4 separate regions of the Homo sapiens genome follow, and regions 2, 3 and 4 are each linked to region 1. Evidence: promoter capture Hi-C in 16 types of primary human blood cells and fetal thymus (Javierre and others, 2016). All regions are on one chromosome and are shown on one strand. Each heading gives the region's core, a stretch centred on a gene start or on the middle of the fragment in contact. The rest is flanking DNA. Distances are from core to core; before and after follow the strand shown.

The links. The method cuts DNA at HindIII sites, captures the fragments that hold promoters and counts their contacts. A CHiCAGO score of 5 or more calls a contact.
Region 2: a contact is called between the fragment with the promoter of C19orf18 here and the fragment with the promoter of ZNF17 in region 1, in 1 of 17 cell types (naive CD4 T cells). The highest score is 5.2, in naive CD4 T cells.
Region 3: a contact is called between the fragment with the promoter of ZNF256 here and the fragment with the promoter of ZNF17 in region 1, in 14 of 17 cell types (non-activated CD4 T cells, naive B cells, naive CD8 T cells and 11 more). The highest score is 10.1, in non-activated CD4 T cells.
Region 4: a contact is called between a fragment that was not itself captured here and the fragment with the promoter of ZNF17 in region 1, in 3 of 17 cell types (total B cells, fetal thymus and non-activated CD4 T cells). The highest score is 6.1, in total B cells.

Annotation. Positions count from the first base shown.
Region 1 is chr19:57,409,663-57,413,140 of GRCh38, forward strand. It overlaps ZNF17 (zinc finger protein 17), which reads left to right and starts at 1,499. Exons shown (of 4, transcript NM_001330617.2): 1 at 1,499-1,744. RefSeq lists enhancers at 1,503-1,612, 1,693-1,752 and a silencer at 1,996-2,198. The HindIII fragment of the contact is 5,033 bases long and covers 1-2,673 here.
Region 2 is chr19:57,972,882-57,976,359 of GRCh38, forward strand. C19orf18 (chromosome 19 open reading frame 18) reads right to left here and starts at 1,653. Exons shown (of 6, transcript NM_152474.5): 1 at 1,431-1,653; 2 at 1,218-1,322. The coding sequence starts at 1,551. The HindIII fragment of the contact is 7,599 bases long and covers 1-3,478 here.
Region 3 is chr19:57,945,835-57,949,312 of GRCh38, forward strand. ZNF256 (zinc finger protein 256) reads right to left here and starts at 1,872. Exons shown (of 3, transcript NM_005773.3): 1 at 1,608-1,872. The coding sequence starts at 1,640. RefSeq lists enhancers at 1,281-1,360, 1,851-1,950, 2,021-2,110. The HindIII fragment of the contact is 12,388 bases long and covers 1-3,478 here.
Region 4 is chr19:57,921,648-57,925,125 of GRCh38, forward strand. ZNF418 (zinc finger protein 418) reads right to left here. Exons shown (of 6, transcript NM_133460.3): 5 at 1,545-1,642; 6 at 235-982. Among named protein-coding and RNA genes, the nearest start is that of ZNF417, 6.8 kb to the left of the region's middle. The HindIII fragment of the contact is 3,803 bases long and covers 1-3,431 here.

The sequences.
Region 1 (3,478 bases), core at 249-2,748:
TTTCCCTCACCAATTCTGCAGGAGAGATCACAAGACTATGTCCATATCTTTATTTGTGGGGGTATGATTTTCAGCTAACATAGCTGCTAAGTGATTTAATTTACAATTATAGTGGTAGAAAAATAGCTCTAACTTCTGAGGTTTTGTAATTTATTGTAAAAAGCGGAATACAGGACATTTAAAGTGACCTGACAAGGTCAATACAGGACTGAGGACTAATTCATTAAATACGTCTTACGTGTCTTAGAGGACCACAGACAGCTAGCAACCCTACTCCTAATGTGTCCCATGCACTTAGTATTGTACCTGGCATCGAATGAGTGTTCATCAAATATGTTAGAGTAATAAATACGACAGCACAGTTTCCCTATTCAGCTTTACTTTTCTGGTAACTCTTTTAATATATAGTCTTTACCTCTCCCTTCAAGCTGTTAATGCACAATGTTTTCAAGTTTGAAAAAGAATCAGATTTTGGACACCAAACTTGAGTGTGTCCAAGGTTCCAGGACAACCTTAGCTTTTTTCCTCCTATCACAAATATGTTTCTCTATAACTATTTTTGCCACTTTCTTTGGATATCTACATAATCGTCATTAATAGTTTCAGTAATAGCCATTTCACAAGAGTTATTCAGAGACAATTTCAACTCCCTGTGCAGACACTGTTGATACAATTTCAGGCGAAATGATAAATCACTTTCCACTAATGAGATGAGATCATGCATTCCCAAACCTTTATCTCAGGAGTAAGATGCTTTCTTTGCACAAGGGCTTTGACTGGTGGAAGGCCACACTATTCTGGCAGATAATGGTAGATAAGTCGCTTTTCCTTTTCAGTTAGGTTTCAGTCTCTTAAAATAAGTGGAAAATATCTCAGATATAAAGTAATAAGTATCATGTGAATAAAGTGTTGCTGGGTAGGCTGAAAGACAATAACTGATTATTCAGAAAGGAAAGATATTACTCCTCAAACTCCCCATCATGCCATGTCTGGGTCTTTTCAATGTGCCCAGCAGAGCACATTGAAGATCATAAAACAGTCTCCAGAGCTTCGTTCTGTGTGTATTTGGCAAGCACAAAAGAGCTGACCGCTATGCGTGGAAGACCAGTTCTTTATGGTTGGCCATGTTCCTTCGGATGTTCGTCTTTTGGGAACTTGCTGTGCTTTACAGAATCTGAAAGGACAGGTCTCTGAAACATTTCTCTGACTTGTTCTAGACTGCCTTCCGGGAAAATCTGGATGCTTGCCGTTTAAAAGCCAATGAAGCCCCTCCACGTCCTTGGAGCCCCGCAACTGCATTTCTCAAAGCCTCAGGAGGATCCTCCTGGCTTTCATCCTGAACGCGAGTTAACTTAAGTTCAGAAGCGGGGCAGGCAGTGGCCTGGGAACTACATTACCCAAAAGACACAGCGGCGGACACAAGCAGCGAGTGTAGCCAATGAAGGCCTAGCAGAGCGGCGTCTACGGGGGTTCGCAATGCGTGTGGGCGGGACTTCCTGCAACGCCTCCTGGGGTTGTCAATATGGCTGCGTTGGGATCTGTTCACCTTCAGGCTGAGTCGAGACTGAGGTGAAAAAGCGGAAAAACGCGAGAAAAGGTTTCCCCGTTGTACAGAGGCTAGAGTGAGGCTCGGTTGAATCGGTTGCAGGCGTTGGTGCCTCTGTCAGCGTCCAGGTCACTGCCGCTCCCGCCCCGCTCTTCCCTGGCTGTGCTGGCGGAGGCTGCGCCGATGAACCTGACTGAGGTGGGTGCCGCGTCCCAGGGCGCCCCGCCCGATCCCTCCTCCGAGTGCCGAAGCCCCGAGGAGGGGCCCTGCAGGTCAGGCCCCTGTGTCCCAAAGAGAGGAGCGTTCTTGTGTGGGGTACCGGTGTCCGCGGTGCTGTGAGGCGGGGGAGCTCCTGTCAGGGACCTGCACGTGCGAGGCTTAGAGGTGCTGCAGAGCGGGCGGCACTGGGGAGCCCGAGCGTCTTTGTCTCCACGGAGCTGAGGGTGAGGCGGAGTCTCGCCTGGGAGGGCAGCGGAGCTGCTGAAAGCCGTAGAAGGCTGTGCAGGAAGGGTTATGCCCAGAGGTAGACGTTTAAAGTTGGGAAAAACAGGATGTTAAACCAGGACAAGGGGACCGCTGAGGAGACCCCTTGAGTTATGGTAGGGATGGGCCAGAGGGGTTGCAGTAGAGGGGAAGTGTGATGAGATTCTGGATGGATCTCAGAGATAGAGTCGACAGGATTTCCTGCTGCATCAAATGTAGCAGTGAGGGTAGTGAAGGGTCTATTCCATGGATTTTGTTTTGGCCTGAAAATCTGAAAGAATGGAGTTGGAGAAGTCAGCTTAGGGAGCAGGTTTCAGAGAGGATTATGAGTTGCATTTTGGAGGGCTGAGTTTTGGAGGGCAGATCATGGGTGGGTCCATAAGCCTGACGCTACCTTTAGAAAGGCGCAGACCTGTCATAGGAGGGATTCTGGCTCATATCTGCAAAAACGGAGTTCTGAATGGGTTAAGGAACTGGCCTAGGCTGGAGACTGAGGTGTGAGGTGGTTTAGATTTCTGCACCTGCAGACCCAGCAGCCCCCCAGGCCCACTCTGTGGAACAATAGGAAGGTCATCCAGACTAGTGGGGACATTGGGTCCAGACGGGGGTAGGGCTTTCTCACATCTAGTCAAGGGCCTCCAGCAAGCTTCCAGCAACTGAATTTGTAGCAGGCAGGCCTGGTTGCTGATGGGACCAGTAACTGACCTGCTTGCTTATCCCCTCCCTGCAACTTATTTATTTATGAATGTGTAAAACATTTTTTTTTTTTTTGAGACAGAGTCTCGCTCCATCGCCCAGGTTGGAGTGCAGTGGCGCGATCTCGGCTCACTGCAAGCTCCGCCTCCCGAGTTCAAGCAATTCTCCTGCCTCAGCCTCCCGAGTAGCTGGGACTACAAGTGCCCGCCACCACGCCAGGCTAATTTTTTGCATTTTTAGTAGAGACGGGGTTTCACCGTGTTAGCTAGTATGGTCTCTATCTCCTGACCTCATGATCTGCACGCCTCAGCCTCCCAAAGTGCTGGGATTACAGGCATGAGCCACCGCGCCCGGCCGAATGTATAAAACATTTATTTAACCACTAATGAACCAGTATCCTTCTAAATATGTACACATAGGTCGGCAGTTAGAAATGAATGTAACCAATAGTTAAATTTATTCACTTAATAATTGTTGAATGTTGATTTTTCTTTTTTCTTTTTTTTTTTGAGACGGAGTCTCGCTCTGTCGCCAGGCTGGAGTGCAGTGGCGTGGTCTCGGCTCACTGCAACCTCTGCCTCCCGGGTTCAAGCGATTCTCCTACCTCAGCCTCCCGAGTAGCTGGGATTACAGACATGCGCCACCATGCCCATCTAATTTTTGTATTTTTGATAGAGACAGGGTTTCACCATGGTTGGCCAGGATGGTCTTGATCTCTGCACCTCGTGATCCGCCCACCTCGGCCTCCCAAAG
Region 2 (3,478 bases), core at 403-2,902, 560 kb after region 1:
GTTGGGCACAGTGGCTCATGCCTGTAATCCCAGCGAGGAAGGCAGATCACGAGGTCAGGAGTTCGAGACCAGCCTGACCAACATGGTGAAACCCCGTCTCTACTGAAAATACAAAAATTAGCTGGGCATGGTGGCACGCGCCTGTAGTCCCAGCTACTCAGGAGGCTGAGGCAGGAGAATTGCTTGAACCCGGCGGTGGAGGTTGTGGTGAGCCGAGATTGCGCCACTGCACTCCAGCTGGGTGACAGAGTGAGACTCCGTCTCAAAAAAAAAAAAAAAAAAAAAAAAAAAAAAAAAAAAAAAAGGATCAGAGAGCCAGGCAGAGAGGCCAGGGAACCAACAATAGTGTCCTTTCCTCGGACACAAATTACATGCAAATGTATCACACAGACAGCATTTCCCTTGCATGGAATGGAGATTATTTACAAGCATCATATATCTCCACAAAGGGTTGCTGAGCTTCAAAGATTGTCGGGGTTGGTTTTGCTGTTATAAGATAAACAAACATCCTCTAGTACTCAAATTAGAAGGGAACCATAGAAAATGCTTATAAAGAATTCTCGGCTGGGCATGGTGGCTCATGCCTGTAATCCCAGCACTTTGAGAGGCCGAGGCGGGCGGATCATGAGGTCAGGAGATCAAGACCATCCTGGCTAACACAGTGAAACCCTGTCTCTACTAAAAATACAAAAAATTAGCTTGGCGTGGTGGCGGGTGCCTGTAGTCCCAGCTACTTGGGAGGCTGAGGCAGGAGAATGGTGTGAACCCAGGAGGTGGAGCTTGCAGTGAGCCGAGATCGCGCCACTGCACTCCAGCCTGGGCGACAGAGCAAGACTCTGTCTCAAAAAAAAAAAAAAGAAAAAAAAGAATTCTGTACACTCACAAACCTTCTGTGTCTAGACTTGCATGCTCTACTGCCAAATGTGCACCAAATTCAAGTCAGACAGGCATACCTGTGTAATCTGGATGGGATCAAGGTTTTTGTGTGCGCTTATTAAAGTGAAATGAAAAAGAGAAGAAAGTGGCAATCCCTAAAGAGAAAGCAGTTAACAGAGAGTGAAGAGCATAAGATCTAATTTCCAAGCAAATGTTTATCTAATTATACTCTATTTTATGGACCTTTCTACCAGCAAGCACACAGTACACATTCACATGGCAGATAAGAGGACTCCAGGCTACGATTCTCACTCCACTGAATGAGGAATTCAATGACTCACCCGTGGATCTCGAGGCAGCCCCTTGAATCCCAGGCAACTGGGTTTTATGAAAGAACACTTTGGGCTCTTTGGTGATGTTTCTGGGTGGTTGTGACCGTTTACTGCCTTGAAAAGAAAACTTTTTGCGGTGAAATGTAATTACCTTCTTTTTATCTCCCCTGAAACAGCTTTTCAATTCTCCCTGAGTCACATAAAACCAGTGGTTGAAGCTACCTGGTAAGCCTGTTATGTTTCCAGTGGGATGGAGTCCATCTGCATACGGCAAGCATAAATGAAGTTGGCATTCCATTAAAAACAAAAACAAAATGAGGAAACCACTCTGAACCTTGTCCATCACTCTCAAATTATCAGTATTTTATCCCGTAGATGAAAGGAAATACTTAGCTACAGTCCAGCATCTGTCCTCTATTTATCTGAGGAATCAAGAAGTTCTACTCCCTTCAGAATGTTTGGGCAGTGACTTGGAGCCACCAGTGTGAGGTCAGTCCTTGCTGTGATAATGGAGTTCCTTCATGGAACCATGCTGACCAATGGGGAGACTACAGTGTAAGAGGGCAGTGCTTGGAGGTGCAGGCATGATGAGACCAGGTCCCTGCCTGCAGTGTGCAGATTAGTGAGGAGGCAGAAAGAAATCAATTACAGTCAGCCCTCCGCATGCATAGTTCCCCATCCGTGATTTCCAACAACCTCACTTGGAAAATGTTCAGGAAAAAAGGAATGGGCACGGTGGCTCACGCCTATGATCCCAACACTTTAGGAGGTCAAGGTGGGCAGATCGCTTGAGGCCAGGAGTTCAAGACCAGCCTGGCCAACACAGTGAAAGCCCATCTCTACTAAAAATACAAAAATTTGCTGGGCGTGGTGGTGCACACCTGTAGTTCAAGCTACTTGGGAGGCTGAGGCATGAGAATCACTTGAACCCAGGAGGTGGAGGTTGCAGTGAGCTGAGATCATGCCACTGCACTCCAGCCTGGGCGACAGAGCAAGACTCTGTCTCAAAAAAATAAAACAACAAACACAAAAACAAAAACTAGCCAGGCATGGTGGCGTGTACCTGTAGTCCCAGATACTCGGGAGGCTGAGGCAGGAAGATCACTTGAGCCCAGAAGGCAGAGGTAGCAGTGAGCCAAAATCGTACCACTGCACAAAGAAAGAAAGAAAAGAAAGTGGAAGGAAAGCAGTCACCCTTAGAAGGGAGGCAATGTGCACAGGGGAGACCCACAGCAGGAAGGTAAAGGGGGACTCCTGATGACTGAAAGTGGGCCCTAGGCTTCAGAGATGGGAGGAATAGAAGACGGGCTCAAAAAAGGCAATGAACTATGTCATGTATGAGGGAGACAGAGGGGACCTGGGAGTGCTGGATGTTAGGGACCACTGAAATCAATACTGTCCAGGCTGTGCATGATAGGTGAGAGGAAGGGAATACTTCCAGGAAGAAGCAGAAGTCTGGGACTTTCTTTTGACTCGTGATGTGACCTGACCAACAGGAGGCCCTTTTTTTTTTTTTTTTTTTTTTTTGAGATGGAGTCTTGCCCTGTCACCCACACTGGAGTGCAGTGGCACAATCTTGGCTCACTGCAACCTCCACCTCCTGGGTTCAAACGATTCTCCTGCCTCAGCCTCTGGAACCGCTGGGATTACAGGCATCTGCCACCACACCCAGCTAATTTTTGTATTTTTAGTAGAGATGGGCTTTCACCATGTTGGCGGCCAGGCCAGTCTCGAACTCCTGATCTCATGATTCACCCACCTTGGCCTCCCAAAGTGCTGGGGTGACAGGAGTGAGCCACTGTGCCCTGCCAGGAGGCCCTTTAAGACATTAAAAAAACTCTTATCTGTTTAAACAGAGATGGGATCTTGCTACGTTGCAAGGCTGGCCTTGAACTCCTCAGCTCAAGCAATCCTCCTGTCCCTCCCAAAATGCTGGCATGAGCCTCGGTGCCCGGCCTAGAAATTTTTTCAAGATAATAATCTTAGTAATAAGGTTATAAGTTACCAGGATGCTTGTGGTATATTGCATATGACTTATGAAATCCTTTGGAATCTCTAAATCAGATAATTTGGATTCACTCTGGCTATTAGAATACAATATCCACATCCTACTGGTAGTATGATTCTGGATATATTATGCTGCTTTCTCCAAGATGAGATAATACTGCTAACTTCATTCTCTCCAAGGGCCTTTGCACAAATCATGTAAAAAAAAAATCCATCAATAACTAACTTGCCCCTGCCACATTTATCAGGTGACCACTAATGTG
Region 3 (3,478 bases), core at 622-3,121, 540 kb after region 1:
ATCCACCTAAAGCTCATTTAAATCCCAGCCTCACTGGTCGTTCATCTCACACACAATGACTCTCACAAATGACCACATGACACTAACTTAATCTTCCAGCCTGAATGAAACACCCAGGCCCCATCAAGTTATCACAAAATCCTGGATACCCATAAAGTGGTGAATAAGCACGAGTTTTGGCCTGAGTGTCCTATGCGTTTGCATCCATCTCATGTCCATTCTTCTCTTGGGAGCCGTGGCCACTGCCAAACTACACTGTCTTTTACATACCTTGCCTTCATGACCACTTACTCTATCATCATCCTCCCAGTCTTGGCCCACTAACAGCTTTACAACCAAAACCTGGAGCTTGCCCCGCCTAACTGTGACCCACAGCTCACTAACCTTGGTGCGCACAACAGCCACATCTTGAATATCTGCACCCTGAACCACTCCCTAGATTTCAAGACCGGCACGTTCATCTGCCCACTTAACGCCTCCATTTAGTAGGCTCTGAAAGATCTGACTCTTAGCATGGCATAAACAAACCTGATATCCCTAGTGAATATTACTCCTATTGCCAATTTGTTCATCTTAGTTGATGAAACTTCTTTCCCTACAGCTGCTAATACCAAAAACCCTGGAGTCTTCTCTGAACCCTCTGTTTCACTCCCTCACCACCTACATTATGTAATTTAGTTGTCCCTTTTGAAACCACACATCCGGAATCTAACCACATCTCCTAAATCACGATCCTGGGCCAGTAACCCTCACTTGGACTAGTCTACCCTGATTTTCCTTCCTCCTCCCTCAACCCCCCAGTTTGTGCCCCACTGTGCACACAGATGAAGCCTGTGAAGACCTTGGTAAATTACCTCTTTTTTCTGATTCAAACTTGCTATTACCTCCTGAAAACACACTCAACTTCTCAGGCAGCCACTGCAGTCCTGACGCCTATCCTCCTGTTCTTTGCTTCCCACCAGAAAGCAAGGAGACTTGTGGCTTCATAAATGCACCCAGCTCCGTACTGCACCTAAGCATTTGCACATCTTGTACCTTTCTGGAAAAACTTTCCACACCCGTTCACATGGCTGCCAGAAATTGGAACAACTCTATATACCGGCTAACATGGACATAGGACCCTGGGCTTGGGGTTCACCCAAGGTCTTCAGAACTAAGGGCTGGGGGAATGGCACTCCACAACCCAGAGAACCTGTGGGTGGGAGTTAGGGCTAGTGAGAGACTGGGAAACCCTCCCCTTCCTGGCGTAGATTTCATAACCCTTTACAGCCAAGGGAAACGTAGAAAGAGCCAGGCCTCAGAGAAGAGCATCTATGGCGGTATTAGATGGGCTCAAGCCACCCCGTAGCCCCATGCCTGGCCTTGGAGCCGGGTGCCCTCGCAATGGCTGTGTCACCTCTGTGCCCCAGGGCTCAGTGGCGCCTCTCATCAGGGGCTCCTTGCCAGTCGCGCCCTCCCTTCCCTAGCACACCAGGTGTTGGAAACGGGAGCCCCTCCGGCGAGCCCCCGTGTCCTGTCCTGGGCAGCAGGGCCGCGAGCAAGCGCCCTCGGGGGTGCTAGGACTAGCGTGGGGAGGGCGGGGAAGGCCCAGAGGACGCGGCACATACCTGGGCCGGGGCCGTCAGCTCGGCCGCCGCCATCTGACTCTGTGAGCGGAGCGGGGCCAGAGAGGATGTCCTTATTCCGGGCCGGGCCTGGGTACCCTGGGCGCCGCCGAGCCTCAGCCACGCCTCTGTGCAGCGGGGAAGACTCCTCTCGCGCCTTCTCAGTCAGTCACGGATGATGCTGACCCAGCGCTCCGGGGCTTTCTACCAAGTAATCAGTCCAGACAAATGCCAAAACGACCGCCACAAGGAGGACAACGGAAGTCCCGCCGCGACCGCGCGTGCGCTTACGGAAACACCACCTTTCGGAGGCCTCATTGGCTGAAGGTCGCCGTCGCCCAACGCAGGCCATTCTGGGTAATGTTCCCACAGGCGCACGGCGGGAGAGTGAGGGTCGCCTCCACCTCCTTCCGGAAGTAAAGGCCAAACCCCTGTAGGGGGCGCTGGGAAATGGACACTCCAGGTTGGGGCGGAGGCGAGGCTTCGTTCTTTCTTAAAGGAGACGTACCCAGGTTTCTACCGATTGCTGTCTGCCAGTGTTTGTTTGGAGACGTGTCATTTCATGTGTTCCCAGAGGCACATATCCAGATGCACATATTATTACATACAGTCAGTCAGTCACAAAATATATCCACTGGTTGAGAAAGCAAATAAATATGACTATGTTGCGGCCGGGCGCGGTGGCTCACGCCTGTAATTCCAGCACTTTGGGAGGTCGAGGCGGGCGGATCACGAGGTCAGGAGATCGAGACCATCCTGGCTAACTCAGCGAAACCCCGTCTCTAAAATACAAAAAATACCACAAAAAAAAAAAAAAAAAGAAAAATTAGCTGGGTGTGGTGGCGGGCGCCTGTAGTCCCCAGCTACTCCGGAGGCTGAGGCAGGAAAATAGCTTGAACCCGGGAGGCAGAGCTTGCAGTGAGCCGAGATCGCGCCACTGCACTCCAGCCTGGGGGAAAGAGCGAGCCACTGTCTCAAAAAAAAAAAAAAAAAAAAAAAAAAAAAAAGACTATGTTGCAATTCAAACGCATGCACTCAAGCACTGGAGTCAGTTTTCTCAGTCTCTGTATGTTTGATTAGGGACAAGAAAAAAAACACTCCACACAGGTTCATGACAAAGAGGATGAAGGTGGGATGCGGAGGCACCCTGCAGCAGCAGGACATAAGTAGATCCCTGTCTCTGGGTCCCTCTCGTGCCTGTGTAGTCAAACATTGTGTCCAATTCACTAAGCAACACTTGCATGAATCTAATCTCACTTTCTCCATGCCTTTATATTCACTTCTTTTTAATAATTTGACATCAAGCTCAGAAAGAGAACAACAAAAGGAATGGTATTTTGAAAAGGCATGATGGCTAGCTAGAGCATTAACAGGTGGAACAAAGGGTGCTCTGAATCCCAAATGTAGGGTGTATCTTAAATTCAAGATCTCTTCTCAACGCTGAAATGATTATCTTTGCCCCCATTAGTTACGCTCTTGTTGCCCAGGCTGGAGTGCAATGGTGCGATCTCGGCTCACCACAACCTCTGTCTCCCGGGTTCAAGCGATTCTCCTGCCTCAGCTTCCCAAGTAGCTGGAATTACAGGCGCCCGCCACCGTACCCGGCTAATCTTTTTTTTTTTTTTTTTTTTTTGTATTTGTATTTTTAGTAGAGACGGAGTTTCGCCATATTGGCCAGGCTGGTCTCGAACTCCTGACCTCAGGTGATCCACCCACCTCGGCCTCCCAAAGTGCTGGGATTACAGGCGTGAGCCACTGTGCCCGGCCCTTTGCCCCCATTATTATAGGGCTGTTCTGCATAAAAAATTGATACGATATCAGAAAAAGAATTGTAAAATACAAATTACAGAAAGCTACTAATAATGGGTGTCGCT
Region 4 (3,478 bases), core at 280-2,779, 510 kb after region 1:
TGAGGTTGGGAGTTCGAGACCACCGTGATCAAAACGCAGAAACCCCGTCTCTACTAAAAATACAAAATTAGCCGGGTGTAGTGGCACATGCCTGTAATCCCTGCTACTTGGGAGGCTGAGGCAGGAGAATCGCTTGAACCGGGAGGTGGAGGTTGCAGTGAGCCGAGATCACGCCACTGCACTCCAGCCTGGGCAACAGGAGCGAAACTCCATCTCAAAAAAGAAAGAAAGAAAGAAAATGAGACATAGGGTTTATTGAGGACTTAGATACAGGGCAGTCCAGGAGCGGCAGGCTGGACAAAAAAACCACTATCATTTGAAAGAAGCATGCAGTTTATATAGTATTTTCACTTATCACCCTCCGCCTAGCTCAAAACAAAGGGCCTCATTCCAAGGAACAGGCCAGGGGTTCAGAAACCTCCAGGTTGGCCACTCCTGGATTTCTTCGTTTGGAACGCTGAACCAACACTCTTCTTAGACCACAGGGTCATTCTTAGGGTGTGCTTGAGTTACTGCTGTCAGATATATCTGTTATACAGTGTCGAACTCCTGGCCTCCAGGATGTTCTTGCCTTAGTCTCCCAAAACACTGGAATTAAAGGCATGAGTCCCTGTACATGACGAGATGGGCTTTTATTAACCTCTTTGTTAGTTTCATCAATCGAGAAGAGAGGGGAGGGTATGCAAAATAAAAATGTTAGAAAATGGGCCACACTTTACAAATTGAGATTATGTCTCCAGTTAAATGAGTTCCCCTATTGCTGTGTAATTCACAAGAAATTCTCCAAGAGGGAGTTACCAATTCAACACATATTTACCCATGACTTCCACGGTGGCTCTTCTGTAAGGAAATGCTTGAACCCAAAGAGAGAACATGCAGATCATAATCAGTTCATATTTATAATCTTGGGCTGGAGGCAAATGCATACAGTTTACCAAATATGAAAAGGTGAGGTGGGCAAAGGGAAATGCCCTTGAGATCCCTGAAAAGAAAGAAAATTCAGTTATACATTTGATACTTAAATATATGGGACACCACTTTGTTAAATTGCAAGAAAAAAACCAAAAGCATGCCAGGCACAGTGGCTCATCCTGTAATCTTAGCATTTTGAGAGGCCAAGGTGGGAAGATCCCTTGAGCTCAGGAGTTTTGAGAGCAGCCTGGGCAACATAGTGAGACCTAATCTCTACAGAAAAATTTTAAAAATTAGCTGTGCGTGGTGGCACATGCCTGTCCCTAGCAACTTGGGAGGCTGAGGTGGGAGGATGACTTGAGTCCAGCAGGTCAAGGCTGCAGTGAATTGTGATTGTGTCACTGTACTCCAGCCTGGGCAACAGAGTGACACTGTCTCAAAAAAAAAAAAAAAAAAAGGGCCAGGCACTATGGCTCATGCCTGAAATCCCAGCACTTTGGGAGGCCGAGGCGGGCAGATCATCACAAGGTCAGGACTTCAAGACCAGCCTGAACAACATGGTAAAACCCCATCTCCACTAAAAATACAAAAATTAACCGGGCATGGTGGTGCATGCCTGTAATCCCACCTACCCGGGAGGCTGAGGCAGGAGAATCGCTTGAACCCTGGAGGTGGAGGCTGCAGTGAGCTGAGATCGTGCCACTCCAGCCTGGGCAGACAGACGGACATTCTGTCTCAAAAACAAAAAAAATTAAGAAAGAATCAAAAGCAACTTTCTAATTCATTGCAGACGGGAGTATTTTTCTATTTAGTGACACACTTACCTAACCCATTTATGCCAAGGGATGCAAAATATATATATATATACATATACACACACATACATATATACACACATATATATACATATATACATACATATACATACATGTATATACATATATACACACACATATATACATATATACATATATATACATACACACACACACACACACACACACACATATATACACATATATATATATTTTTTGAGACCGAGTCTTGCTCTGTCACCCAGGCTGGAGTACAGTGGTGCGATCTTGGCTCACGGCAAGCTCCACCTCCCGGGTTCACTCCATTCTCCTGCCTCAGCCTCCCGAGTAGCTGGGACTACAGGCGCCTGCCACCACGCCCAGCTAATTTTTTGTATTTTTTTAGTAGAGACGGGGTTTCACCATGTTAGCCAGGATGGTCTCGATCTCCTGACCTCGTGATCCGCCTGCCTCAGCCTCCCAAAGTGCTGGGATTACAGGCGTGAGCCACCGTGCCTGGCCACTTTCATGGGTTTCTATGAAAGTCTAAACTTACCACATGGTACAGTTTAAATATGTATAGTTTACAGAATGTCATTTATTCCTTATTATGGCTTTAAAGAATTGATTCAAAAGAAAAATGTGGGCTGGACATGATGGCTGAGGCCTGTAATCCCAGCACTTTGGGAGGCTGAGGGAAAAGGATTGCTTGAGGAGTTCGAGGCTGCAGTGAACTATGATCTCGCCACTGTACTCCAGCCTGGGTCACAGAGCAACACCTTGTCTTAGAAAAAAAAAAAAAGAAAAACATGGATTTTCTATTATTTTTGACAAACATGCTTGACAACTATACAAAATCTCCTCATGTCCTAAGTGCAGCAATGAGTCTCTGCGGCAGCAAATACTGATAAGCCAGGAAGGCCATTTTCACCTGATTAAATTGGAACACTGGTTGGTCACAAAGACCACATCACTGGACTAAGAGATCTCCCTTCTCCCTATCCTCTTCCTCCTGCCAATGCAGGAATTGCCTTGAGGTGAACAGCCGAGAAAGGGTACAGGAATCCACGAATCCTTTATATTATTTCCTTTGACAATGGCCTCAGCTACACAAGATTCATAATTATGGAGGTTCTGAGAATTTCTGTACCTGACAGTCCACCACATACATAGTAACTGAATCAATGTGGATGACGTGCATTCCAACTCTGTTCTTGCAGTGTCCTCCACTGCCTATAAATGCAGAAATTCTATAAATTATGACTTCCTGTTATAATCTCATAACCTGGGACACCACACTACGAAACTCTGGATATCAGAGCACATGGCTGCATTCCAGGACCTAGGGAACAGATTTCCCTCAGCAGTACTGAGCAGAATGCAATATCCCTTGTAAAAGAGAGGAAATTTTCGTGTCGATCTCAGAAGCATCAGAGGATGTCACAAACACTGTTCCCTTCTCAGGTTTATCTATAAACCCAGAAATTATTGGAGTATCTAGTCAACAAATAAGGACCACAAAGTTCTGGAGTCTTTGGAGGCCTTGGGCAGCCATGAAAACTATGCCACAAGTGAAGAGACAGTATATTCTGTCATCATACTGTCCCCTCTGAGGCACACAAAGTCTAGTGATCCCAACAAAAGCTGTCTGCCCCTTTATGACACCAGAACCCAGTTGTTTCCAAACCACCCGAAAGAGTAAATACAACTCTCAAGACTGAAGGAAGCTTAAACAATAAGGCCTTATTCATTGCACAAATCAGAGCAATGGG